Linked DNA regions of Homo sapiens: all the other regions are linked to region 1. The links are contacts of gene promoters, found by promoter capture Hi-C in blood cells and fetal thymus (Javierre and others, 2016). All regions are on one chromosome and are shown on one strand. Each heading gives the region's core, a stretch centred on a gene start or on the middle of the fragment in contact. The rest is flanking DNA. Distances are from core to core; before and after follow the strand shown.

The links. The method cuts DNA at HindIII sites, captures the fragments that hold promoters and counts their contacts. A CHiCAGO score of 5 or more calls a contact.
Region 2: a fragment that was not itself captured here is called in contact with the fragment with the promoter of ATRIP in region 1 in 1 of 17 cell types (M0 macrophages); the score reaches 5.2 in M0 macrophages.
Region 3: a fragment that was not itself captured here is called in contact with the fragment with the promoter of ATRIP in region 1 in 2 of 17 cell types (endothelial precursors and M0 macrophages); the score reaches 6.0 in endothelial precursors.
Region 4: a fragment that was not itself captured here is called in contact with the fragment with the promoter of ATRIP in region 1 in 3 of 17 cell types (endothelial precursors, megakaryocytes and M1 macrophages); the score reaches 8.1 in endothelial precursors.
Region 5: a contact is called between a fragment that was not itself captured here and the fragment with the promoter of ATRIP in region 1, in 1 of 17 cell types (M0 macrophages). The highest score is 5.8, in M0 macrophages.
Region 6: a fragment that was not itself captured here is called in contact with the fragment with the promoter of ATRIP in region 1 in 1 of 17 cell types (M1 macrophages); the score reaches 5.6 in M1 macrophages.

Annotation. Positions count from the first base shown.
Region 1 is chr3:48,444,623-48,448,591 of GRCh38, forward strand. ATRIP (ATR interacting protein) reads left to right here and starts at 2,115. Exons shown (of 13, transcript NM_130384.3): 1 at 2,115-2,470. The coding sequence starts at 2,224. It overlaps ATRIP-TREX1 (ATRIP-TREX1 readthrough), which reads left to right and starts at 2,157. Exons shown (of 15, transcript NR_153405.1): 1 at 2,157-2,470. It also overlaps a transcript of CCDC51 not described here. RefSeq lists a silencer at 2,060-2,419. The HindIII fragment of the contact is 2,012 bases long and covers 1,306-3,317 here.
Region 2 is chr3:48,681,232-48,685,200 of GRCh38, forward strand. NCKIPSD (NCK interacting protein with SH3 domain) reads right to left here. Exons shown (of 13, transcript NM_016453.4): 2 at 1,672-1,781; 3 at 1,117-1,321; 4 at 814-925; 5 at 56-549. Among named protein-coding and RNA genes, the nearest start is that of NCKIPSD, 2.7 kb to the right of the region's middle. The HindIII fragment of the contact is 268 bases long and covers 2,368-2,635 here.
Region 3 is chr3:48,220,616-48,224,584 of GRCh38, forward strand. CAMP (cathelicidin antimicrobial peptide) reads left to right here and starts at 2,880. Exons shown (of 4, transcript NM_004345.5): 1 at 2,880-3,097; 2 at 3,739-3,846. The coding sequence starts at 2,897. RefSeq lists enhancers at 2,225-2,344, 2,365-2,494, 2,505-2,554 and a silencer at 2,564-2,858. The HindIII fragment of the contact is 1,319 bases long and covers 1,064-2,382 here.
Region 4 is chr3:48,243,641-48,247,609 of GRCh38, forward strand. The region is part of intron 1 of ZNF589 (zinc finger protein 589); the gene reads left to right. Among named protein-coding and RNA genes, the nearest start is that of ZNF589, 4.5 kb to the left of the region's middle. The HindIII fragment of the contact is 365 bases long and covers 1,467-1,831 here.
Region 5 is chr3:48,648,636-48,652,604 of GRCh38, forward strand. CELSR3 (cadherin EGF LAG seven-pass G-type receptor 3) reads right to left here. Exons shown (of 35, transcript NM_001407.3): 11 at 3,802-3,918; 12 at 3,242-3,413; 13 at 2,942-3,083; 14 at 2,724-2,844; 15 at 2,257-2,440; 16 at 1,845-1,946; 17 at 486-580; 18 at 84-293. Among named protein-coding and RNA genes, the nearest start is that of MIR4793, 6.3 kb to the left of the region's middle. The HindIII fragment of the contact is 1,812 bases long and covers 345-2,156 here.
Region 6 is chr3:48,629,603-48,633,571 of GRCh38, forward strand. It overlaps SLC26A6 (solute carrier family 26 member 6), which reads right to left. Exons shown (of 21, transcript NM_022911.3): 2 at 3,875-3,969; 3 at 3,649-3,788; 4 at 3,372-3,482; 5 at 2,643-2,794; 6 at 2,278-2,442; 7 at 2,047-2,199; 8 at 1,622-1,704; 9 at 1,391-1,538; 10 at 1,005-1,118; 11 at 836-913; 12 at 460-555; 13 at 270-376; 14 at 40-109. Among named protein-coding and RNA genes, the nearest start is that of MIR6824, 2.1 kb to the right of the region's middle. RefSeq lists enhancers at 1-375, 376-876. The HindIII fragment of the contact is 5,706 bases long and covers 1-3,969 here.

The sequences.
Region 1 (3,969 bases), core at 865-3,364:
TTGCCGTATATTTTGATGAGACTTGTTCATCTGTTCATGTAAGGCGTCTGCTATATGCAGGCACTGGGGTATGTAACGGAACAGTTCCTGTTGTCAAGGAACTTCTCTACTGTGGAAGAGGCAGGGCAGGGCAAATTACATGATCCTTCAAGTTGCTAGCAGTGAAGTCCCCATGCGCACCAAACAGGTCCAGGGCAGCAGCTGCGGGAAGCCCCAGCCCACTTGCTGGTGGATGGAGGGGGTGCCAGTGCCAGGCAAGGGGTTGGGGGTGAGGCAAAATGGGGGCTCACTCTACCTCCTGCTGCCCAGGACTGGAGTCCCAGGCATACCTACCGCTTGCCCCTCAATAAATGCAAAGACAGAGACCATCCATAATGTGTGCTGAATATGTTTTAAAATGCTTAGCTGGGTGTGGTGGTGCACTTCTGTAGTCCCAGCCATTTGGGAGGCTGAGGTGGGAGGATCACTTGAGCCCAGGAGTTCGAGGCTGCAGTGAGCCAAGATCACACCACTGCACTCCAGCCTGGGAGACAGAACAAGACCCTGTATTTAAAAAAAAAAAATTAATTCAGAAGCACAAGTATTTGGATTTCCCTCCCAGGCCCTTAATACAATTATGTTAATAATGCTCAGCTTTCTCTGAGAATATTGTCGAAGAGCGCTCTGGAACCATTATGAGACTGCTAAATCAAAACTAGGTTTTAGAATATTGAAAACTTTCATGATTAATGTACTAGATATTAACGCGGGAGAGGGGGCAGGGGGAAGCCTGTGTTGGTCCTCTCCAGAAAGTTGCACAGCCAGTAGCACCCTTCAGTAGGCTTCAGGCATTCCCTGTGGGGCCTTGCTAGCTGGCACCCAGCCGTATGCTGCTAAAACAAACCTGAGCACCAGTGATTCACACTGTTCCTGAAAGCAAGTTACTTGGTGGAACCTATCCCTCTTTAACAAATGAACAGTCCTGTCTCTTTCCAGGACCAGAGTCCTGCAGCAATTAAGCATGCAACACTTGGGAAGCTATCTGACGGAGACTACCAGTTGCTCCAAAAAATTTTAAACTCCTTAGACATTATAGGCCCTGATAGCACTCTCTTTTTCATTTACTCTTTTCATTTAATGCTTTCACAAATATTCCTAGGACACTCACAGGTGAAGTTTGGCACTGAGCAGGTAAGGCTGAAAGAGTCTTGCTCCTGTTACTCTCCATTGCCAAATTCTCTATTGCGGCTAACTTCTGCACACCACAGCTGCCCAATAAAATCTGTCAGGCACGCAAGCCCACCTCAAATTGCTGCTCCTTTGTGAAGCTTTACCTCTGTTCGCCACCGGTAACTCTTACCTGGCCTTTGTGTGGCCTCCCTTTCAATGTAGAATTCTCGTGTTAGTCTTATGTGCCAGCCTCCTACCCCTCTATCCTGCTAACTTGACTCAACTTGTAGGACAGCGCAGGTGCCATTTACAGGGGGACTTCCTTGACCTCCTGAGCCCTATTCTATACAACCAGAGCTTAGGAAAAAAAAACAGTCCAGCACTCAGAGGAATGGATGTTAACAGCCTGAGCAGCTCCCACCCCCTCCCACACAAGAACAGCTCCAAACATCATTCCTCCTTGGACTTTCCTCCTCCCTGGGCCTACCTCAAATGTACACATGTGAAACATTCACTAAACCCGAAGATGTCTGCACACGACAGCTCTATTCATACTCCTCACCCAACAAATTCCACTCTCCTCAAGAAAGCCTAGGGGTTTGTGGGAGGTGGGTCTGGCGGCAGAAGGAAAGCGAGGTCACGGAGACCACATCCCTGAATGATGCCTGGCTCGACTCAAACGCAACACGCGTGAATGCTAGGGCAGGCTGCTCCTGCGCGGCCCTCCTCCACGGAATGCCAGGGAGGGAGCGCAAAGCCACCAGCGCGGCGGAGCTGGTGCGCCTCCGGCCCGCCTCTCCGGTAACGGGTCGCGCCGCACTGAGTCCTTGCAGCAAACCTGCCGAATCCCGCCCGTGGACCTCTAAACACCGGGCGGGGCCGGGTGTGGCGGCGCGCTCGGACGTTCGTCATTCCTCCGCGCCCTCCGCCTGCCAGCTGATTGGCCCCTGGGCCAGGGGCGGGGCACTCGCGGCGGAGGCAAGCGGCGGCGCGCGGACGGTTGGTCCAGTTCTCCGGCCTGGCGGCAGGCAAGTCTAGCTCGGCGCTGTCGGATACTTGGGGTGAGCGGAAAGCATGGCGGGGACCTCCGCGCCAGGCAGCAAGAGGCGGAGCGAGCCCCCGGCGCCTCGCCCCGGCCCGCCGCCGGGCACCGGGCACCCCCCGAGCAAGCGGGCCCGGGGCTTCTCCGCAGCCGCTGCCCCGGACCCTGACGACCCGTTCGGCGCGCATGGGGACTTCACTGCCGACGACCTGGAGGAGCTTGACACCCTCGCGTCACAGGCCCTGAGCCAATGTCCGGCCGCGGCTCGGGACGTGTCCAGTGAGTGCTCCTCGCGGCCTTTTGCTCGGAGGGAGTTGTCAACCGCGCCAGATCCCCTTGATGGCTGTGGCTTCGGAACCTCGCGGCCAGCACTGCCTTTTCGCCTTTTTAAAATATGGGAACACCCTGATTTAAGCAGCGGTTGTCTTCCAGAAGGTCCTTTGATTTTAGGGGGAAATGCATTAGCCAGGTCAAACAGCCGATTTGAAACACAGAAGGCTAAGTTGACATTTTACGTTATTTTCTAAAGTTTAGGCCACTTGGTTCTTGGTTCTAAGCAGAGATCCTTGGAACACACCTACCACCACCATCAGAACCATCACTACCCATGCATGGGGACCCATTCTTGTGACAAGTTTGAGCGGCTTTAGATCTTATGAAGCCCACTGTCTCCCTTGGGCAGTGTGAGCATGGGAGGAGCCAGACACAGGCAAGAGATGAAATAAATTTATTCTTTTATACAACCAGTAAACTGTGCTAGGTGCCCAAACGTGAGGAACTGCAGCTGACCTTACAATGAACAAAATACAAAAACTGTCCTTCATGGAGCTTACATTCTAGTTGAGGAGTGAGTGAAGTCTTGAGGACTCCCAGAAAGAGAAATGTTTTGAGTGCACCTTGCATCTGTACTTGGGTGTCTCAAGGCACCTTAAACTCAACACGATCATTTCCTGGAAACCCAGTCCTCCTCCAGCACTTCTAGCATGGTGCCGGCAAAGCAGACATTCAGAGAATGATGACCAGATGTTCCACAAGGAAGTAACTAGCACGACTCTCCATCCAGTGGCACAAAGCGACTCTTCCCCTTTCCTTGACTCTACATCTAATTTATTTGGAAAGCATGTCAAGCTTACCTTCTTAATCCTTCTCTGGAGTCTATCCTATTCACATTGCTTCTACCAGCTGCCTGATCTGTGTTACCATGAGTCCTCTCTTGAACAATGGTCTGCTAAATTGGTTTCCCATTTCCAGTCTTGACTCCCTACAAGTGAGGCTTCACATCACATTCTGAGTGATCTTTTCAAAACTCAAATCTGGCTGTGTCTTACACAGATATACGTGAACACCCTTTTTTTTTTTTTTTTTTTTGACGGAGTCTCACTCTGTCACCCAGGCTGAAGTGCAGTGATGCCATCTTGGCTCACCACAGCCTCTACCTCCCAGGTTCAAGAGATTCTCTTGCCTCAACCTCCCGAGTAGCCTCAGCCTCCCAAGTAGCTGGGATTACTTGTGCCCGCCACCATGCCTGGCTAATTTTTGTATTTTTAGTAGAGACGGGGTTTCGCCATGTTGGCCAGGCTGGTCTCAAACTGCTGACCTCAGGTGATCCACCCGCCTTGGTCTCCCAAAGTGCTGAGATTACAGGTATGAGCCATCCGCACCCAGCCATGAACACCCCTAATGAAAGCCCTTTAATAATTTCTTATTTCTTCTAGTGTGAAGACCAGAATCCTTAACATGGCCTGAAAGGCCCAGCCTGGTTTGGCCCTTTCTCACTC
Region 2 (3,969 bases), core at 1,252-3,751, 240 kb after region 1:
GACGGTGGGAACAGGGTGGGTAGCAGGGTGGCCCTGCTGTGCCGCCCACCCTCACCTTGCCCTCTACGAGTGAGAGGAGGACCTGCTCCATGACTGGTGAGCTGGCCGGCACCGAGGCCTGGATGTGACCCACTATGATGCCGATGGCCACCCGGCATAATTCGTGGCTCAGGCCAGTGTTTCTCCGCACCAGCTCCATCAGCTCGGCCCCAATGGTCCTGGGCACAGCCGCCTCAGCTGCTGCCTTCTCCTCTGTGGTCCCCAGGCTCAGTGTACCCAGGGCTTCCAGGTCATCAGAGGCTGAGGTTGTACCAGTTGCCACTTCTTCTTCTGCAGGGGGTTCAGGTGCTGATGCCTTGGAGGGAGGGGGCTGGACTTGGGACACGGTGGTGTGGGTGCCTCGGCGGGGCACAGGTGGGGGTGTGGGTGAGCAGCTGGAGCCTGGTTCAGATGGGCTGGAGCTGGTATAGAGCGTGTCCAGGGAGGTGCTGCTGACTGAGGAGCCGCTGGACACAGAGTTACCCCCGGAGGGCATGGTGTTGTGGCCACCTGCGAGCAGTGAGTAGAAGCTGGGCCAGGGCAGCCCCCTGGAAAACCATACCCTTCACAGCCCAGATCCCCTGTCCCCTAACACAGGGCCTAGTTTCTCTGCTAGGCACTGCCTCCTCACAAAGCCCAGAGCCCCTAATTGCCCCAAAATGGGAGTCCTGTCCTCTTCCCCAGCTTAGAGCCTCCATTTCCCTGACACAGGCAGCACAACCATTCCAAGCATAGGGTGCCTCCACCTGAATTCCCCTAACCCTGCCTTCTTACCACTCCCAGAGGCCATCAGGGCCTCGCGGTCTCGGCGCTTCACTGGTGGGGGCGGTGTGGTGGGTGCTGCTCGGCGAGGCTGTGGTGGGATCTGGGAAGATGGAAGTGGGATCTGGAAGATGGAAGTAGGATCTTGGAGGACAGACTGACATCTAGAGCGTCAGCGAGGCTCGGGCCCTGAGCCCTGGCTGTGGGCAGGACTATGGCTCTGGGCCGCATCACTCCTGAGTGGACCCCTTGAGCCTCTGGATGAAGCCTCAAGTTCCACCCACCTCCCTTCTCCACGATGTCCTCCCCACACACCTGGTAGAGGCCTCCATCTGCCCCAAGATGCTCAGAACTGGGTAGGCTGTGCTGCCGCTCGAACCCAGCTCGACACACCCCATTGGGCTGCCTGGCTGCAGCAGCATCCAAGTGGTGGTCACTGGTTGATGAGGTCATAACTGCAACACTGGAGGCTGAAGGGCCTCTGCGTGACAGGGTCTCTTTCCGGTGGTGGATCAGCTTCCTGATGGAAGGACAGGAAGACTATTGGGGGGTTGCATCTCACAGCTCAAAGTCCTCATATGCCCCTGTGGGATGCTGGGACCCCATAGCCCAGGCCCCTCAGACATCCCCATCTCCTCCATGCTCCACCCCAGCCTACAGTACCCCATACTATCCTCAGTCCTGCGCTCTGCACACCCCTGGTGCTCACTGAAGGACCCGACCCCACCTTGCTCACTGGGAGGTGCCATTCCCCCACCACCCTTGCCAACCCTCGCATTTCCCAGGCCCACCTGCCCCATGACACTCATTGAAGAACCCCACCCCACCATGCTCACCGGGAGGTCCCACTTCACTCCCCTCAACACTCACTGGAGGACTCCACGCTGTTCCAGGCTGTACTTGCCACCATCCCGCATGGCTGTGTTGTGTACAGCCTCGATGGCCCGGTCAATGGCCTGGAGGACATCCTGCTCCAGGCCCTGGGGGGGGCAGGGGACAGCAGTTAGACCTGAAGGCCAAACGGAGGTGCTCAGCCCAGGCCCAGCCCGAGATAGAACCCAGGGCAGAGAACCAATATAGCGAAAGCCTGGAATGCTAGACATAGCACAAAAAGTTGAACCAGAATATGGAATGGGGTTCTCAAACTGTATCACTCAGGGAGCTGAGGCACAGGGTGACCCCCATGCTGCCACATTACATATTAGGTCCTGATCAGGATTTTACCCCACAGCAAGGCTCTTGGCTAAGATGTTTCTGAAAATCAGAGGTCTAAAGCAAAAACATAGCCCAGGGGCTCCCAGCTTGCAGCCAGGAGCGCATACCTCGTCTATCCCTGGTCTTGGCTCAGAGCCCAGGTTGAGATGCCAAACAGGAAGTCTCCAGTATCTGGAATCCTTAATACATCACTCTGCATCTTGCTGATCTTTCACAAAACCAAGGTCATACCCCAGAACAGCCCTGTCCTTGTAAGGGCCCTCTGTAAGCCCTGGGAGCTGAGAATGGGTCAAAGGGACTTGCCCTCCCCAACCCTGCTGCTGGCCCTCATCCCCACAAGATGTCTCAGTAAGCTTCCAAACCCACCCTGGGAAGCAGTTCTGTGTTTGTGGCAAAGGATAAACATGAGAGAGGGGCCTAGCCCCTGTTCCAGGCTCTGTACTGCCATCCCCAACATTCCAGGGATCCAGTCTACTCTGCCTATCTGACATGGGGAGTGTAGGGTAGCAGCTATCAAACCAGCTACCCCCAGCCCTCCCCTGGCCCTGGCACACGTAGTCCATCAGGCTACATAGGAGTCCCGGAGCTGAGATGAACTCATTCCACCATGGGTTTGAGAAGCTTCCCTGATGGGCACAGACAGGTGGGCACAGAGGTCAGCAAAGCCCTCCAGGTGGTATGAGGTGTGCCAGAGTGCAGGGAGAGGAGACAGGGGGATAGAAAGACATGAAGACACACACACACACACACACACACACACACACACACACACAGAGAGAGAGAGAAAGAAAGGAATGGGGAAAGAGAGGAGCTCAGAGAGGAACGGAGAGGCAGACAGAGGGAAACAACGCAGAAAGAAACAGAGCCAAAGCCAGAGTGTGGGGGGAGCCGGAGGAAGAAACAAAAACACACACATGTGGAGTCGGAACGACACAGGCAGAGAGGCACAGAGTCGCAGCAATCCAGACAGAAAGAGACACGCAGAAAGAAACAGACAGTGACAGAGAAGATGGTAGCCTCTCTGCCCTCCCCAAACACCTTGCCCCACTGGTCCTGGCTGGCGGCAGGGGACTCACAGGCCCTTGACCTATGCCCAGTAGGGGAAGAGACAGGACTTTTCCTCAGAGGCCTTCAATGAGACCCCATTCCCAAAAAGGTTGGGTCTGACACACAGCAGCCATGGTGTCCACGGCCCCCACTCCCACCCCTGGCACTCCTAGATGGGATCACGCCAAGGGTCTATGAGGAAGCCCCTAGGCCCCCAGGGCCCATCCTTCCTGGTAAGACCAGATGACACTTCCAAATTTATCCCGTTATTTCTGTCCTGAACTGGGCTGGGACAGGATGTTTCCTAAAGGATAAGGACTAGGACGGGGCGGGGGTGTCTGGCACAGGCCCGGCAGCTCTGGGCCCTTCTTCCCCCTGTGGTCAGAATAGACCAGCTGGAGATACGCACCCCAACCCCCGCAGCAGGGCTACTCTTAGGGAAACAGGAACTGGGACTGCAGCTTCCACTGGAAGGAAATGGGGCCACGATCAGACCAGGAGAAGCTATAAGAACTCACTTCATCACAATGTGAGCAGTCCCCACTCCAGGCTGGGAACAAGTAGGGATGGAACCCATTTTCAAAGCAAGAAAGTTTGAGAAGTCAGGGTTGGGGAGTGGAGCAGACAGTGTCAGCAGGGGCATGGGTCCTTGGTTCAAATAAGGTTGGTAGAGACTTAAGAAGAGCTTAGAGGGTGGCTGAACACAGGCTAGTGAAAGACACTGAAGTACCAAAGCTTGGGTGTTACATAGGGGATGGAGGTGTCTATGGCTCTAGGGTCCAAGTTGGGGGGTTGAGGACCTGGAGAATGGCTAGGGAAACAGGTGGTGTCCAAGGTGGTCCAGGTCTCAGTGGTGGCTCCAACGGGGGGCAAGGCGCGGGGTTGGGGGAAGAAGGAAGGGAGGGA
Region 3 (3,969 bases), core at 473-2,972, 220 kb before region 1:
AGCCTCACTTTTCTTTTCTCATTCCGCCTTGCCTAGAATCTTCTGATCACTCTATTAATGGGGTGAGCCATTATGAAAAAGGCGAGCTGGTGAGAGCCTCCTTTCTCCCTCTCTAGGAGGAAGGGGCAGCCATGGGTTCTAAAGGTCTGAAGTCAGCCGCCCTACCTCAGGTAGTGGACACCGACCTGCATGTGCCGAGGGCAGGACTCACTCCTGGAACCTGGGAAGCCTGGACCTTGTGCGATGGCCCTGAGAGGGAAAGCAAGTGCCCCTGAGTCCAGACTTCTGCAGTTGTATCAGAGGGCCTATGCAAGCTGCTTGGGCTCTGGCTGATTTCATGTGAGGGCGTGTCCAGCACTGGCCGAAGTGGAACGTCCTCTTGAGGCAGTTGGAAAGGGGCTCTGAATATGCCAGATCTGACCTAGAGGAACACAGGAGCATGCAGCTCTCACGCCCTAGCCTAAGGACTAACATTGCCATCTGCTTCTCCCCGGTTTGGCTTCTTGGGGATCCTGAAGCCAGTCAGAAGGGTGGAGGAAGCAGGAGAGCCCTGAGAGGTCTGATATCCCTGGATGGCCCTTTTCCCAACAGCCATAAAAGACCTGATGTGCAAGCCCTGCTTGACCAACAGGCCACTGGGGCAACACTTGAACTGTGAAACCAGGTTGCACAGAAGCCCACTTCTTCCTTCTCTCAAGGCCAGGTGTGCAACCGGTGGCCTTCGTCCAGGCTTCCACCTTCCAGGAGCCCTGCTGTCCAAGCCCCCAAGTGTCCCACAGGCCAACTGAGGTCAAGAGGTACCCCAGGCCTCAGGGCCACATGGCCAGTCCACAGAGGAGCTGGGACCGGAATTTGCCTCATGGACGCTGGACCCCTCTATCACTTTGGCCCTTTATCTCTCCTGGCTGTGATCTCTCCCTCTCCCAACACCAGCCACCCATCCCAGCTTGGTGTCTCAGCTAGAGCACCAAACAGGGAGTAATTTGAGGTCGAATCAGGAGAGACTTCCTGGAAGATGTAGGGGCAAAGAGGAGATTGCTGTGCCTGGTTGGAGGTCAGGGAAAGCTTCATGAGGTGAAAGGGCAGGCCAAACAGAAGGATCGGGGCAGAGCTGGGAGAAAGAGCAGGAGGCTCAGATGAGCCTATGTGATGGGGGCATACGTGACAGTCTGGCACTTGCAGTGTGCAGGGCTGGGGTGAGGGCAGTGGGAACCAAAAGGCCACAGGCCCTGATGCCAGCCTAGGGGGTGTGTGGGCTCCTGAAGGTAGAGGGTTGAAATGGCCAAATTGGTGGTTTAAAGGAACCCCTGGACAACGGTGTGGAGGGTGGACTGTGGTCTGGGGAGAGCCTGAAACCTAGAGAAGGTGGAGTCTGGAGGCTGGGGCAGCATTGCATGGGAGAGAAGATGGCGGCAGGAGCCAGGCAGGGGTGGAAGGAGAGGCCAGAGGGGAGTGCTTTCGGGAGGAAGGAGCCAAAGGTGCTTCAGGGCTCATGCAGTGGGCACTCAGCAGAAGAGCAGTCAAGGAGGCCCAGTGGGGACAACCGGGACGTTCATGGGAGTCTCGAACTCAGAGATACAGACTGGGTGGTGTCTGCCTATTATAACTGGTGTCCTGGGAGAGGGCGTCCCCAGGGAAACCCGAGGCCAGGGAAGAGAAGCAGCCCAGGAGGTGACCCCACACGCTCTCAATATTAAGAAGACAGCCCTTAGGGGAGACCAAGAAGGAGCCACCAGGGAGGCAGGAGGGACAGCAGGAGAGTGGCATCAGGGGAGACCGGGGCAGCAAGAAGGAAGGCTCACCAGTGCCTGTGCAGACAAAGACCAGGCTTGAGGGTGGCCATGGACCAAGGGTGGGTTGGCCAGCCTTCAGTGGCCTTCAGCATGAAGAAGAGTGAAAAGATGGGGTCAAGAAGCGTAGACAACCTTTCCTAAGACTTGGCTTGGGAGAAGCCATGGTGAAAGGCCATGTCTGGAGGGGCTTGGGAACATTTTGAGACTGAAAAAAACAGTGAAGAAGGATGCAGAAGGGGATAGATGGAGCAGAGCCTTCGTCTGGCTGACGGCTGGGTCCAGAGAGCATGTGGTATGGCCTTGAACTGAAAGGGCAACTTGTCCCTTGCAAGAGTGAGTCTCTAGGTTGGGGGTGGCTACTGTCTTCATTTACCAGTTCTTTTTTTTTTTTTTCATACTGAGTCTCACTCTGTTACCCAGGCTGGAGTGCAGTGGCATGATCTCAGCTAACTGCAACTTCTGCTTCCCGGGTTCAATGGGTTCAAGTGATTCTCATGCCTCAGCTTGTAGCTGGGACTACAGGTGTGAGCCATCATGCGTGGCTAATTTTCATATTTTTAGTAGAGATGGGGTTTCACCATGTTGGCCAAGCTTGTCTCGAACTCCTTATCTCAGGTGATCCGCCCACCTTGGCCTCCCAAAGTGCTGGGATTATAGGCGTGAGCCACCGTGCCCTGCCTCATTCATCAATTCTTAATCGATGCCTACAGGGTGCCAGGCAATGCCTAGAGCTGGAGATTTAGCAGTCCATCATACTGACTCCTGAGGAGTAGAAGGATGTAGAATAGGCACCTGGCTCTCTTCCTCTCTGGAGGGATTTAACGCTCTTGAGCACCCCTGGCTATGACAATCTCCGGTCAGGTCTGGGAGGTTGTCAGAGATGAAGAAACCACTTCCTCATCTTGCACACAAGGAAGGCCTCACTCACTGCCCAGCAAGTCCTGTGAAGCAATAGCCAGGGGCTAAAGCAAACCCCAGCCCACACCCTGGCAGGCAGCCAGGGATGGGTGGATCAGGAAGGCTCCTGGTTGGGCTTTTGCATCAGGCTCAGGCTGGGCATAAAGGAGGCTCCTGTGGGCTAGAGGGAGGCAGACATGGGGACCATGAAGACCCAAAGGGATGGCCACTCCCTGGGGCGGTGGTCACTGGTGCTCCTGCTGCTGGGCCTGGTGATGCCTCTGGCCATCATTGCCCAGGTCCTCAGCTACAAGGAAGCTGTGCTTCGTGCTATAGATGGCATCAACCAGCGGTCCTCGGATGCTAACCTCTACCGCCTCCTGGACCTGGACCCCAGGCCCACGATGGTGAGCTTTGGGGGACATTCTGCTCTGCTCTGGCTGGGCTTGGCCACGTGTTGTTCCTTCTGCTCCTGCTGCACTGCCTGCCAGGAGGGCATCTCCCCCTTTAAATGTGGTCCCGTGTTTTCCAGGGAACCTTCTAGAGCTCGTGTCTCCTCCCAGCTCGAGAGCTTCCTGCCTTATAATTCCTGCTGTGGCAGAGATACCCTCACCCCGACCCCACGCAGGTTTTGGGACTTCTGCGAGCTCCAGGCACTAGAATGGGGTCATTGGCTCTGGGCAGTGACCTCCTCTGCTTTAAGTCTCTTCTGTACCACGTTACCCCACATAGGGAAGAACTCTATCCAGACTTTAGGTTCCAGTGGGCATGTCTTGTCCCCCAGGAAGCCCCCTGACTTCCCTTGCCCCCACCCCAGAGTGGGAGGGGCTCCTTGTTAGAGCTCATCTGAGGTCTGCTCCTACTCACTGTTCACCTAGGAGGGTAGGAATGGCTCAGTCCTCCTCCCCTCAATGCCCCAGTGCCAAGCCCAGCACCCAGTGCCCGTCGCACATCAGGTACTGTGGAAAGCCTGCCCTCTTGGTGGGGAGGTCATGGACACAAATCAGAAAATACAAGAATGGGCCTCCCCATTTCCTCCTCTGACTAGGATGGGGACCCAGACACGCCAAAGCCTGTGAGCTTCACAGTGAAGGAGACAGTGTGCCCCAGGACGACACAGCAGTCACCAGAGGATTGTGACTTCAAGAAGGACGGGGTGAGGCTGGGGGCTGGGGGTGTTGGTGGGTGCCTCCCAAGGAGCTGAACAGGGGGCACCTGGGGAATATTTCCCACTGGGATGTGGCTGGGAGGTCATGGCAAATGGTTTCAAGTTTGACCT
Region 4 (3,969 bases), core at 399-2,898, 200 kb before region 1:
ATCTCTACTAAAAATACAAAAATAGCTGGGCTTGGTGGTGCGCGCTTGTAATCCCAGCTACTCAGAAGGCTGAGGCAGGAGGTGGAGGTTGCAGTGAGCTTAGATCGCGCCACTGTATTCTAGCCTGGGCACCAAGAGTGAAAGTCTGTCTCAAAAAAAAAAAAAAAGGCAGTAACACTAAGTTGAACTTTAGAAGGATAATAACTTTTCCCTCTTGTCATGAGTGGCAAAGAAGATGTTTTGTGGTCACAGAGCTAGAAAGGTTCTTTGACTTGCTTAAGTGCTTCCCAGATGTGTCCAACATGGGCGGAGGCACATCGTGAGGTCCTGGAGTGTGCCTGTGATTCAGCACCTGTTCCCTTTTTGGAGGACTTATTTGCCTCTCTGAAGGATTTGCCTGTGAGTGGTCTCATGCTGGGGAGAGGCACCTAAGGAGTCAGGGCAGAGTCAGGACTCAGGAGGTAGGATCCCTTAGTTCAGCTGTGTGAGGTTACTCTGTGTCCCTCATTTTTTTCCCACCTGCTCAGTGGGATCAGAACCACCTGTCCCTCTGGAAGGGAGAGGCTTAGATGGTCTTTTTTGCTGAAAAGACTGAGGAGCTGCCTCCTTGCCTTGTGCTTTGCTCAGATGTAGCCACTGGGAGTGGCCAAATAATGGTACTCAGTTTTTCTTCTTCTAAAACTTTAGAACTTGAAATAGTAAGATTGCTTTGTTTTCCTCCTGAGTTTAGTCAGGAAAACAGTAACTTGGAAAATTACCCCAGACAGTTATCAAACAAGACTATAATTTTATATATATATTTTTAATTTTAAAATGCTGCTCCATTTACACAAAAATGTGCAGTTCTGGATAGATACATAGTATAGGCACATATTATGGGGCCAGGATGATGGTTTTCTAGGGCATGCAAGAGGAGAAATTGTATATATGTCTTTATGAAATCACTTGACACATTCTCATCACTTAGTACAAAAGCCAGAGTTGTTGCTGGGGTCTGTTTAGAGTGTTTTCCAGGGGTGATGATTTCAGCAGGGGTGATGTCATTATCACATTTAGGGCCTTTTTTTTTTTCTTGCAAACCCAAGGACAAGGCTACCCTTAGCCTAATTCCCCACAGTAACTGCACTATTACTCTGGGGAGCTCAAAAATAGATGGGACGAATTATAAGCTTTTTTTTTTTTTTTCTTTGAGATGGAGTTTTTTACTCTTGTTGCCCAGGCTGGAGTGCAGTGGCACCATCTCAGCCCACTGGAACCTCCGCCTCCCGGGTTCAAGTGATTCTCCTGCCTCAGCCTCCCGAGAAGCTGGGATTACAGGCATGCGCCACCACACCTGGCTAATTTTTGCGTTTTTGGTAGAGATGGGGTTTCACCATGTTGGCCAGGCTGGTCTCGAACTACTTACCGCCCACCTTGGCCTCCCGAAGTGCTGGGATTATGGGCTTGAGCCACGCCCAGCCATTATAAGCTTATATGTATCTTTTCAGAGACAGGGTTTCCCCGGCTCTGTCACTGAGGCTGGAGTATAATGGTGTGATCTCTCACTTCATTGCAACCTTTGCCTCTGGGGCTCAAATGATCCTGCCACTTCAGCCTCCCAAGTAGCTGGGGCTACAGGTGTACACCACCACGCCCGGCTAATTTTTTTATTTTTTGTAGAGATGGGGTTCACCATTGCCCAGGTTGATCTTGAACTTCTGGGCTCAAGCAATCAGCCCACCTCGGCCACCTAACGTGCTGGGATTACAGGCATGAGGCACCGTGCAGAGCCTGGCCAGCTTCTATGTATCTTATAAACACATATGCCTGGAATAAAGGGTGTCAAGGAGGAAGCTTCAGACTGCTGCTAAGACCCTCGTCCCCCTGAGAGGCACTCCCTTCCCCAGACTCTGTCCCTTCTACAAAGGCACAGGTCACAGGTTAGAAATATGACATCCCAGTTCCTTTTCTGAACTTTCAGAATCAGTGACACCCAAGGATCAGAAAAACATTCTTCTTTCCCCTCAGCAAAGATATGGAAGAGAAGGCTGGGCGCGGTGGCTCACGCCTGTAATCCCAGCATTTGGGAGGCCGAGGCAGGCAGATCACCTGAGGTCAGGAGTTCGAGACCAGCCTGGCCAACATGGTGAAACCCTGTCTCTACCAAAAATACGAAAATTAGCCAGGCATGGTGGCAGGTGCCTGTAATCCCAGCTACTTGGGAGGCTGATGCAGGAGAATTGCTTGAACCCAGGAGGCGGAGGTTGCAGTGAGCTGAGATCGTGCCATTGACCTTCAGCCTGGGTGACAGAGTGAGACTCTGTCTCAAAAAAAAAAAAACAGATATGGCAGGGAAAGCTTGAGCTTCCCTCCAGAGATGTTAAAATCTTACCTTTTAAAATTCCACAATAGGCCAGGCGTCGTGGGTCATGCCTATAATCCCAGCACTTTGAGAGGCCAATGTGGGCAGATCACTTAAGGTCGGGAGTTCGAGACCAGCCTAGCCAGCATGGTGAAACCCCCATCTCTACAAAAAATACAAAAATTAGCTGGGCATGGTGGTGCATGCCTGTAATCCCAGGGAAGTTGAGGTGGGAGGATCACTTGAGCCCAGGAGGTGGAGGTTGTAATGAGCAGAGATTGTGCCACTGCATTCCAGCCTGGGCAATAGTGAGACCCTATCTCAATCAATCAATCAATCAATCAGTTCCACAATAATTTGAAGAGGAATGAGAGTCTGACAAGCTGCGCTTTAGAAATGCTGTTGTAATGGTCTTTAATACTTTTTTCTCCTTTTACTCATGCTCTTTTGTAAAATAAGGAATAACATTGACAAGTTTTTAAAACAATATAATAATTATTATTTTTATTATTAGAGATGTGGGTCTCATTGTCACCCAGGCTGGTCTTGAAGCCGTGGATTCAAGTGATCCTCCCACCTCAGCCTCCCAAAGTGTTAGGATTACAGGCGTGAGCCACTGAAACCGGCCTGACACATTTTTAAAAAATATTTTCATTAAATCACAGACTTCTGTTTCTGTGTTTAACATTTTCTTTTTTTTTTCTTGAGACGGAGTCTCGCTCTGTCGCCCAGGCCGGAGTGCAGTGGTGCGATCTCGGCACACTGCAAGCTCTGCCTCCCGGGTTCATGCCATTCTCCTGCCTCAGCCTCCTGAGTAGCTGGGACTACAGGTGCCCGCCACCACACCCAGCTAATTTTTTGTATTTTCAGTAGAGATGGGGTTTCACTGTGTTAGTCAGGATGGTCTCGATCTCCTGACCTTGTGATCGGCCTGCCTCGGCCTCCCAAAGTGCTAGGATTACAGGCGTGAGCCACCGCGCCTGGCCTAACATTTTCATAAACTATTTTCGAGATGGAGTTTTGCTGTTGCCCAAGCTGGAGTGCAGTGGCGTGATCTCTGCTCACTGCAACCTTCGCCCCCTGGGTTCAAGCGATTCTCCTGCCACAGCCTCCTGAGTAGCTGGGATTATAGGCGTGCACTACCATGCCTGGCTAATTTTTTTATTTTTAGTGGAGTTGGGGTTTCTTTGTCATGTTGGTCAGACTGGCCTCAAACTCCTGACCTCAAGTCATCTGCCTGCCTCGGCCTCCCAAAGTTCTGGTATTATAGGCGTGTGCCACTGTGCTCGGTCCATTTTCATAAATTAAAAAAAAACATGTAACTAGAGTCACATAACACATGGGGGGAAATGATGCCTTGTCTCAACAGTTTTGCTAATTTTTAGGGTAGAAAGATGATGAGTGCTTAGAGTTTACCTTACTACATTTAATTAAGATCAGTGTTTCTGTAAAAATGTAATAGGGAAGTGGTGCAGAGCATAGAGAAGTTGACTCAAGCATAAGGCAGGAGGTGAGAGGAGCTCAGGGTCTGGGTCAGCTGAGAAGGCTCAGGTGGCCACAGCCAAGGCTCAGAGGGCTCTTGGGGATCCTCATGATGGGCCTGGTAGGGCTGGCTTCTCAAGGTTGCT
Region 5 (3,969 bases), core at 1-2,500, 200 kb after region 1:
GCAGGAGCCTGAGCTGGGGATCCAGGGGCAGGAGGCTGGGAGCTGGGGGGCCAAGGCACTGAGAACATAGGGCACAGCCCCACCTCATTGAAGTGGGCATCCTGTGTGGCTGTCAGCCCGAAGCCCTGCTGATGGCTCTCGAAGGCCAGCAGGTGGGCCAGCAGGCGGGCAGTGACTCGAACATCTTGGCTAAAATAGTGGTCAGTGTGGCCAGTCACCTCCCGTAGCCGCTGAGCCAGCTTCTTGGCCTCCATGGTATCCAGTGCCGTCTTGTTCAGCTCTAGGCCATCCAGCTGCCAAGACAAGGAGATGGTTGCTCTGTGGTCCCTTAGGCCTTCCTCTAAAGCTTCACAGGGAGAAAGCCTTGCCAGATTAAAGGGCAACCAGGAAAGGCTCAGGAGTTCAAGGGCTAGGGTGTGGTATCTGGGGCCCACCACAGGCCAAGGAAGGTCTTAGGTTGCAGGAAAAGGTCTGGGCAGTCTCACCAGCAGACTGAGCTCTCGAAAGGCAGGGGAGGTACAGTTGAAGAGGTCGGGCTCCAGCCAACCCTGGGCCTCATCACACAGCCGCACAGCAGCACCTGGAGGCAGGCAACCCCTGGTCAGGCCTGGGGCCTGGATACCTTTGCTGAGGAGATAACCGCAGCACCCTCTCCTATGCTGGGGGAATCCCTGAGGCAGAAGTCAGAGTCATGAGCATCTATAGCTGCACCCCTGGAGGTAGCGGCCCAAGCCCAGGTAGGCCCCAGCTGCTTGTCAGGCAATTCCTGAGAGGGCTGTAGACCATTCTCAACCAGCAACCACACAAAGCACAAGGGTGGGGCTGCACACACTCACCCACGTGGGCCAGGACTGGCTCATAGATGTGCTGGTTCACACAGACACACACCAATGCTCACCAATTACACACAGATGTATGGACCAGACCAGTACGCAGACACACAATGCTCTCTCGCACACACACAGACATGCCAACACAGAAGAGGGCTTCTAGGAACATCCAGTGAAAGTCAGGTGGGAGGATTCTCACACAAGTTTTAACTGCCCCAGTGGTTACTTTGCTGTCATTTCTCTCCCTTGTCTCTGGGGTTGGGATGGAGGTTGAATGAGAATTGACTTGGATCTTAAAAAAGTTTGTAGCTACCAACAAGAGAGAGCCTAACTTAATCACAGAATCCCCTCCCCGCAACAGGTTCACAGACACGTGCACAGGCACAGAGATACACACGTGAGCATGCGTACACAAACAATCTCTGTCCAGCCACTGCAGAGACCTCAAGCAGCAGGGAGTGTTCTGAGGGGACCTCAGGCAGTGGGGAGGGGCCCCCAAGCAGCAGGAAGGAGCTATAGGGTCCTCAGACTGAGGAGGGATCTTTCGTGACCTCAGGCAGTGGGGAAAGTTCTATGGGGACCCCAGGAACTGAGAAGGGGTCAGCAGGGTCCTCAGGCAATGGGGAGGGGTCTCTGAGGATCTCAGGCATCAGAGAAGGGCCCCTGGGGTACTCAGATAGCCAGAAGGGGCCTGCAGGGACTTTAGGCAGCAGGGAGGGGTCTGCAGGGACCTCAGGCAGCAGGAGGGGTCTGCAAAAGCTCTGGTAGTGGGAGGGGGCAGTGCACCTGAGCAAACACGTACCCCTTACCTGCACCCCGCAATCCTGCCCAGAAGCCAAGAGAAACAGATGGAGGCTCAATGAGGGTGTAGGGAGGGGCCCACATGGACTCCCACCCCACTTCCACCTCTTTGCAGGAACAAAGCCACCCAATTTAGGAAAAGACATGGCTCTAGCAGTCAGAGTACAGGCCCACCCCCACCCTCAGTGATGTCCTTTCCCCCCACATACTCACCCAGGGCCCCCCGGGGACAGGGCACTGTGGCCAGGACGCCAAACTTTGTCTGGGGCCACCACACACCAGATCTCAGGGACTTAGGGCAGGCATCATAGAGCACTAGAGAGAGAAGAGGTGCTGAGCCAGGCAGTCAGGGTACAGGGCAGTTGACAGCCACACCCACTGCCCCTCCACCACCCCCCACAAGGCCCACTGCCCGCCACTCCTGCTGGCTTCTCAGGAGCTGACCTGTCAGATTCTGTGACAGGTCAGCAAAGTACTTGGGGCAAAGGTAGGGTTCCCTGGGTGTAAGTGGTCTCCCTCAGGAGAAGCTTCCAGAGTCCCCAAGGAGCCATGTGTGCCACTGACACGTGATGGTGGCACACTGGAACCAGCCCTCTATGGGTGGAGCTGGGTGGAGCCTGCTCACCCCGGCAGCCGCTGGCTGTCACCTCTGCGAAGGGACTGTCACAGCTGTTGCACTGGCGGCCAAGGGCTCCTGGGCGACAGGGGCACTGCCCGCTGTGGGGTGCACATGAGCGCGAGGTGGAGCCCACAGGGTAGCAGTCACATGGGAGGCAAGAGTCACTGCCCCGCGGTCGGTAGTGGAACTCCTGTTTGAGGATGGGCCAGGGGCCTGAAGTCAGAGGTCAGGGCTTGGGGAATGAGTGGAATCAAGGATAAAGGGTCAAGAGAACAGTGCTCATGGGCCAGAGGACACCTGGGTCATGCGTGAAGCCAAGGGAGGGGTCACGGGTAAAGGATGAGAGACAGCAACTTGGTCACAGGACACAGGCAAGAGGTTAGGGCCCAAGTCAGGTGGCGGAGGTCAGCAAGCTGGACAGGAATTGCAGATTGCGTCCAAGGAAGGGTTAAAAGGTCAGGGGCCAGGCGCACCTTGCAGTGACACTGCCCATTTGTCTTGTTGCAGTTGGGATCAAAACCTTTGTGAACATCACAGTTGCAGGGGCCACAGGTTGGGCTCCCCCACCAGCCCCGTGGGCACTGCTGGTCCATCCTGGGGGTGCAGAGCCAGGTAAGATGCCTCCACGGTATCCCAGTGACCCTCCCTGTCCCTGCCAGGTCTCCCCATCGCCTCAGCCCCAGCCTCTTACCTGTGCTCACAGTGGTGCCCGAAATAGCCACCCACACAGTCACAGGTATAGCCATGGGGGGCTCCTGGCAGGTGCCGGCATGATCCCTGGTTCTGACAGGGGTTCAGGAGGCAGGCATCCACACAGCCTGGGCCGTAGTAACCTGCAGATTGGGTCAGAAAGCTCAGGATCCTGGTCGCAGAGCATGGAAGGAAGCAGGCACCCGTCCCGAGTCCCTGCCTCCTTCAGGTTCCCCAGTCTTCATCATGGGCCCCTAACGCCTGCCCAGGTCACCCTTCCCCCAACCCTCTCAAGGCTCACCTGGCTGGCAGGTGCAAGAAAAGGTCTGCCAGAGGTCCCGGCAGTCTGCGTGAGGTGGGCAGGGCCCAGAGGCACAGGCGTTGGTCACAACACAGCCAGGCTCCGCATTCACTCGGTGGCTGGGGGGTAGCAGGGCCGGGGAGCCAGAGGGTGTGGAGCCGAGCCACACCCCCTGTGGACACACAGCCAGCAAGGGGTGAGACCATGTTAAGGCACCTCAGCCTCAAGTACTGCAGAGCCAGCCACCCGGTCTGATGATCCTTGACATGCAGTCTTCTGATACCCTCAAAAAACCCAGGCCTCAAAAATATCCCCAATTTGGTACCCCTGTGGGACCCTAATTGTGCTGTTTCTGACACAGATTCCTAAAGGCCCTTGATAATCCAAGCTAGACTCCCACCTCCAATGCCACAGAAAGGCTTGACCTAGCTCTCAACTCTGGGTCATTCACCCCCTCGCACCAACCCCCACTTGAATACTGCCTTTCAGGTCCCAAGGAGCCCCTGACTTCTGACCCCTGACCCTAATGCCCCATATCACATTCCCATGCTGACCCCCACCTGGATGCAGCCAACCAGACCCTGAGGAGCCTCCTCTGCACTGCCGGGGGGCAGGCCTCCCACGTGGAGCTGCTTTACCTTCAGGCCCTGCAGCTCACTCCCCACCGCCATGGTGTCCTGGAGGAAGTGGGGCAGTCAGCACTGAGGGAGAGGGGCCTGATGAACCCC
Region 6 (3,969 bases), core at 445-2,944, 180 kb after region 1:
TCCCCATCCACACCATCTCACTCAGCCCCTGACACTCACCTCTGAGTACTCTGCCACATCTCTGTAAATATCCGTGTCTGGCACCTGCCCCAGGACAGAGTAGTGGGGCCTGTGAAGGAGAGAGAGAATGCACGAAGAGGGGGCAGAAAAAGGGGATAACAGAGGGGTCCGAAGGAGCCTGAAGTCCCCAGAGATGTGGGGAAAGCTGCGGGGAGCCCTGTGGTACTCTCTCACTAGCTGGAATGAGGGGACCAACATGGCGGACTCACATCTGTGTCCGGACCACCACGAGCAGCAGGGAGAAGATGACCGCAACCACCAAGCCAAGGTCCAGGTTCAGCAAGATGGTGGCCGTGAAGGTCACCAGCCAGATAAGCTGAGAACAGAGGGCAGCGGTTGGAGGGCGGCGAGGAGCCATGGGGCTGCCCAGTCCCTGCCCTGGGCTCCCAGTGCACTCACCAGATCCGCCCGATTGGCCTTCCAGAGGGAGCGCATGTCGCTGAGCTGCCTCAGCATGCCCTTCAGGTTCACAATGATGATGGCTGCCAGGACCGCCTGGGGTGGGGACAGTGCCACCAGGGGCCATTGAGGGCACCCGATGCTGACAACCCTCCTCACCGAGGCAAAGCCAGACTAAGCCCAAGCACTCAGGCAGTACCCCAGACACAAACCCCCACCCAGCCCCTGACCCTTGTCTCCAAATCTCACCTTGAAGATCTCAGCCTTGAAAAACAGAACCTAACCTTGTGTCCCCACCCCTCGCCTGAACCTAGACTGGCTGATTTGAGAGCCCTGGCCTGGCCAAGACCTGAAACCTGGCTGGGTGGGGGCTCACCTTGGGCAGGTCATGGAAGAGTTCCCCAAGTTTGACAATGATGAGGAGGATGAAAAGGGAAGAGATGGCTCCAGCAACCTGTTCGGGGAGGGAGTGAGCAGGGGAGAGACCTCCTTCCCCAGGCAAAGCAATGTGCATGCCCACACCCATGCCCACACCCAAAGCCCACCTGCGAGTTGCCCCCGGTGCTCTCCTGTACCAGGCTCCGAGACATAGAGCAACTCACGGGGAAGCACTGGAAGATGCCTCCGATAAGGTTACTGAGGCCCAGGGCCACCAGCTCCTGACGGGGGACAGTACGGGTGTGAGAAGACTTCCTAGAAGTGGCTGGTCACTGTTCCACTGTATCTAGGCCTGTGCATCCCCAATCTCCATCCCCACCAAGTGGCCCCCAGAGACTGGATGCTGTCCCACACGTCCTGCTCTCCCACCCTCAGTCCCCCACGTGGCCTCAGCACATCTGCTGTCTCCCTGTGTCCCACCGGTTCCTCCCCCACCCGTTGCTGGCGCCTCCATACACTTGGATGCCTCCTACACATCCCGCATCACCCAGACCTGGTTGCTGTCCACCCGGTAGCCGTGCCTCAGGGCGAAGATCTTCCCCAGTGAGATGGCAATGGCAAACCCAACCACAGCGATGGTGAAGGCGCTGCCCACGAGCTTTGAGAACAGCTGGGTGTTGGGGGCCACTGGGGGCACCAGCCTGTGAGAGGTATCTGTGAGGCCAAAGCAAGGTCCTGTCCTGGCTGCCCAACCCTCCCTGACCTGATGGAGGCCAGAGCTCACCCTGCAGGGATGTTGCCCACGACATCTACCTCAAATCTGTGCTTTAGACCCATGCCATAGGAGATGCCTGTGGCCCCGATGAGCTGTGGGAGAGGACAGAGTCAGGGAGGCAGGTGCTGGCACCATGGTCAGGGGGACACATAAACCACTGTGAGGTGAGGAGGGAGATACTGGGCAAAACCTTCTTCGAGGGTGGGAAAAAGTCACGTAGGGTGAGAGACAGGCAACACCATTTCGGCTATGGGGAGATGCTGTCAGGGGCAGGAAGAAACCAACATAGGGGCTTTCTGCTGTGCCCCCCACAATACCCAAGAACCCTCCCAGCCCCCCTCCAGCTGGCCCTCAAATACAGGAGGCTGCCCACGTGGCAAGGACCCAGCCTGACCTGCCCTTCTCCCCTGCCCTCCACTCCCTGGCCCTCGAACCGTGAGCAGCTCCCCGGGTATCGGCATGGGCAGCTGCTGCTGCAGCTTGTCATTCAACAGCTTCACCACCACGAGCACCACCCCAGCCACAGCTGCAGTGACCACGGTGCCAACCTTGCTCTGGGGCAGCTTCCAGCAGACCTCCAGCACTGTCTGAGGAGAGGCCAGGTCACAGCTAGCACTCAAGGCCATGGGGCACACCTACCCCTCCCTCCCCCTACCCTCACTCACATAGATGAGGGACAGTGGCCCAGAGTGGCTGCTCAGATGGAGGCCAAACACATACTTGAGCTGTGAGACGAAGACCTGCACAGCTGCAGCTGTGGTATAGCCTCGGACAAGAGGTTCTGACAGGTAGGTGACCACGAAGCCGAAGTGGATCAGGCCCAGCCCCACCTGTGGGGCGGCCAGGGGCAGTCAGGAGAGGCAGGGGTCCTGGGGTTGCTAATGAGGAGCGCAGGGCAAGTGGGATGGGAGGGGGATGAGTAGACGGCAAGAGGAGGACGACGATGGTCAGACACTCAGGGGAGTACAGACAGGACAGTGGCGGGAGCAGAAGTGGTGGTGGGGGGCACATACTCCTGACTGTTCCACACCTGGAAGAGGCCAACCAGGACACTGAGTGTGGAGGCCACCTGTACCCGGGCAGCATCTCTGGCTGTCTCATTGATCATGGAGTCGTTCAAGGCCTGCGGGGCCAGGGATTCTGTCACACTGCCCACCATCACAGACATGACAGCAAAGGTCCCTGTAAGGACGGCACGGGGCAGGTCTGAAGAGGAGAGGACACTGCCCTGCCCTGGAGCCCTGGTCTTAAGAGAGAGGCCAGGAGACTTCCAGTTCTGGATAAATGTACTCAGATTATGGCTGCATGAACAGGGACAGTGCTGGCGGTTCAGGTTTGGCCAGGCCAGGAGTAAACCCTGAGCTCACAGGCCCTTAAGCATGGCTAGAAATGCTGGCCCTGTCTCATCTACCCTGTCCCACCTGTGTCTACTGGTCCCGGGACACAGAGGCTCTCTGTGGAGTAGGGAAGGGGTCAGGGCTGGCCTTAGGCTGCTCAGGCCTCTGCCAAGTTCCAGGCCCCTTGGGCTGCCTCACCCACTCTCATCTTCCTGGAGCCAGGGCTTTGAGGTCACCTGCCTCTGTGGTCCTACAGTCAGGGGTCTAGTCCTGCCTGGGGATGACTCGTGGGCTAGCCCAGGGATGCAGCACCAATGCTGCCCTCTTCCCCAGCCGCTCCTGCCCTGCTCAGTGCCCCCTCACCCTGCCCTCCATGATGGATGTGGGCATCCTCCTGGAAGGCTAGGCCTGCCTCCACTTACCCACGGAGATGTGCCGGGAAGTGCCAAACAGGAAGTAGATGAAGACAGGGTAGAAGGAGCTATAGAGGCCAAACACGGGGGGCAATCCAGCCAGGAGGGCGTAGGCCAAGCCTAGGGGTAGAATGGTAGCAGTGCAGGCCTGGAGAGCAGATCTTGAAACGATAAGGGAATCCCAGCCCTGGGTTAGGTGCCATAGTTCCAAGGTAGAGGTCATGGCCCCAGTTTTGGGCATCACAGACCACAGGGTTTCCAGGCCGACGCACTGAAGGTGGCTCACCCTGCGGAAGCTGCATGATGGCCACACTCAGGCCGGATAACAGGTCACCCAGGAGCCAGTCACGCACAGGATACCGGGGTAACCAGACCAAAACCGGGAGGTGTTGGAGCAGAAGGGCATAGGCCCGAGCACGGGAGCACCTAGGGACATGATATGAGGGGTAGGTGTCAGGAACAGGGGCTACCTGGGCCCCGCCAGCGCCCCCAGGCCCCAATCTTGGCCTTACTGCAACCAGGTCCGCCACTGGTGGGTCCTAGGTGCTGAGCCCCAGCGCCCCAGCTCCTCCAAATGCTCCTGGTTCAGCAGCGGCCGTTCCATGTG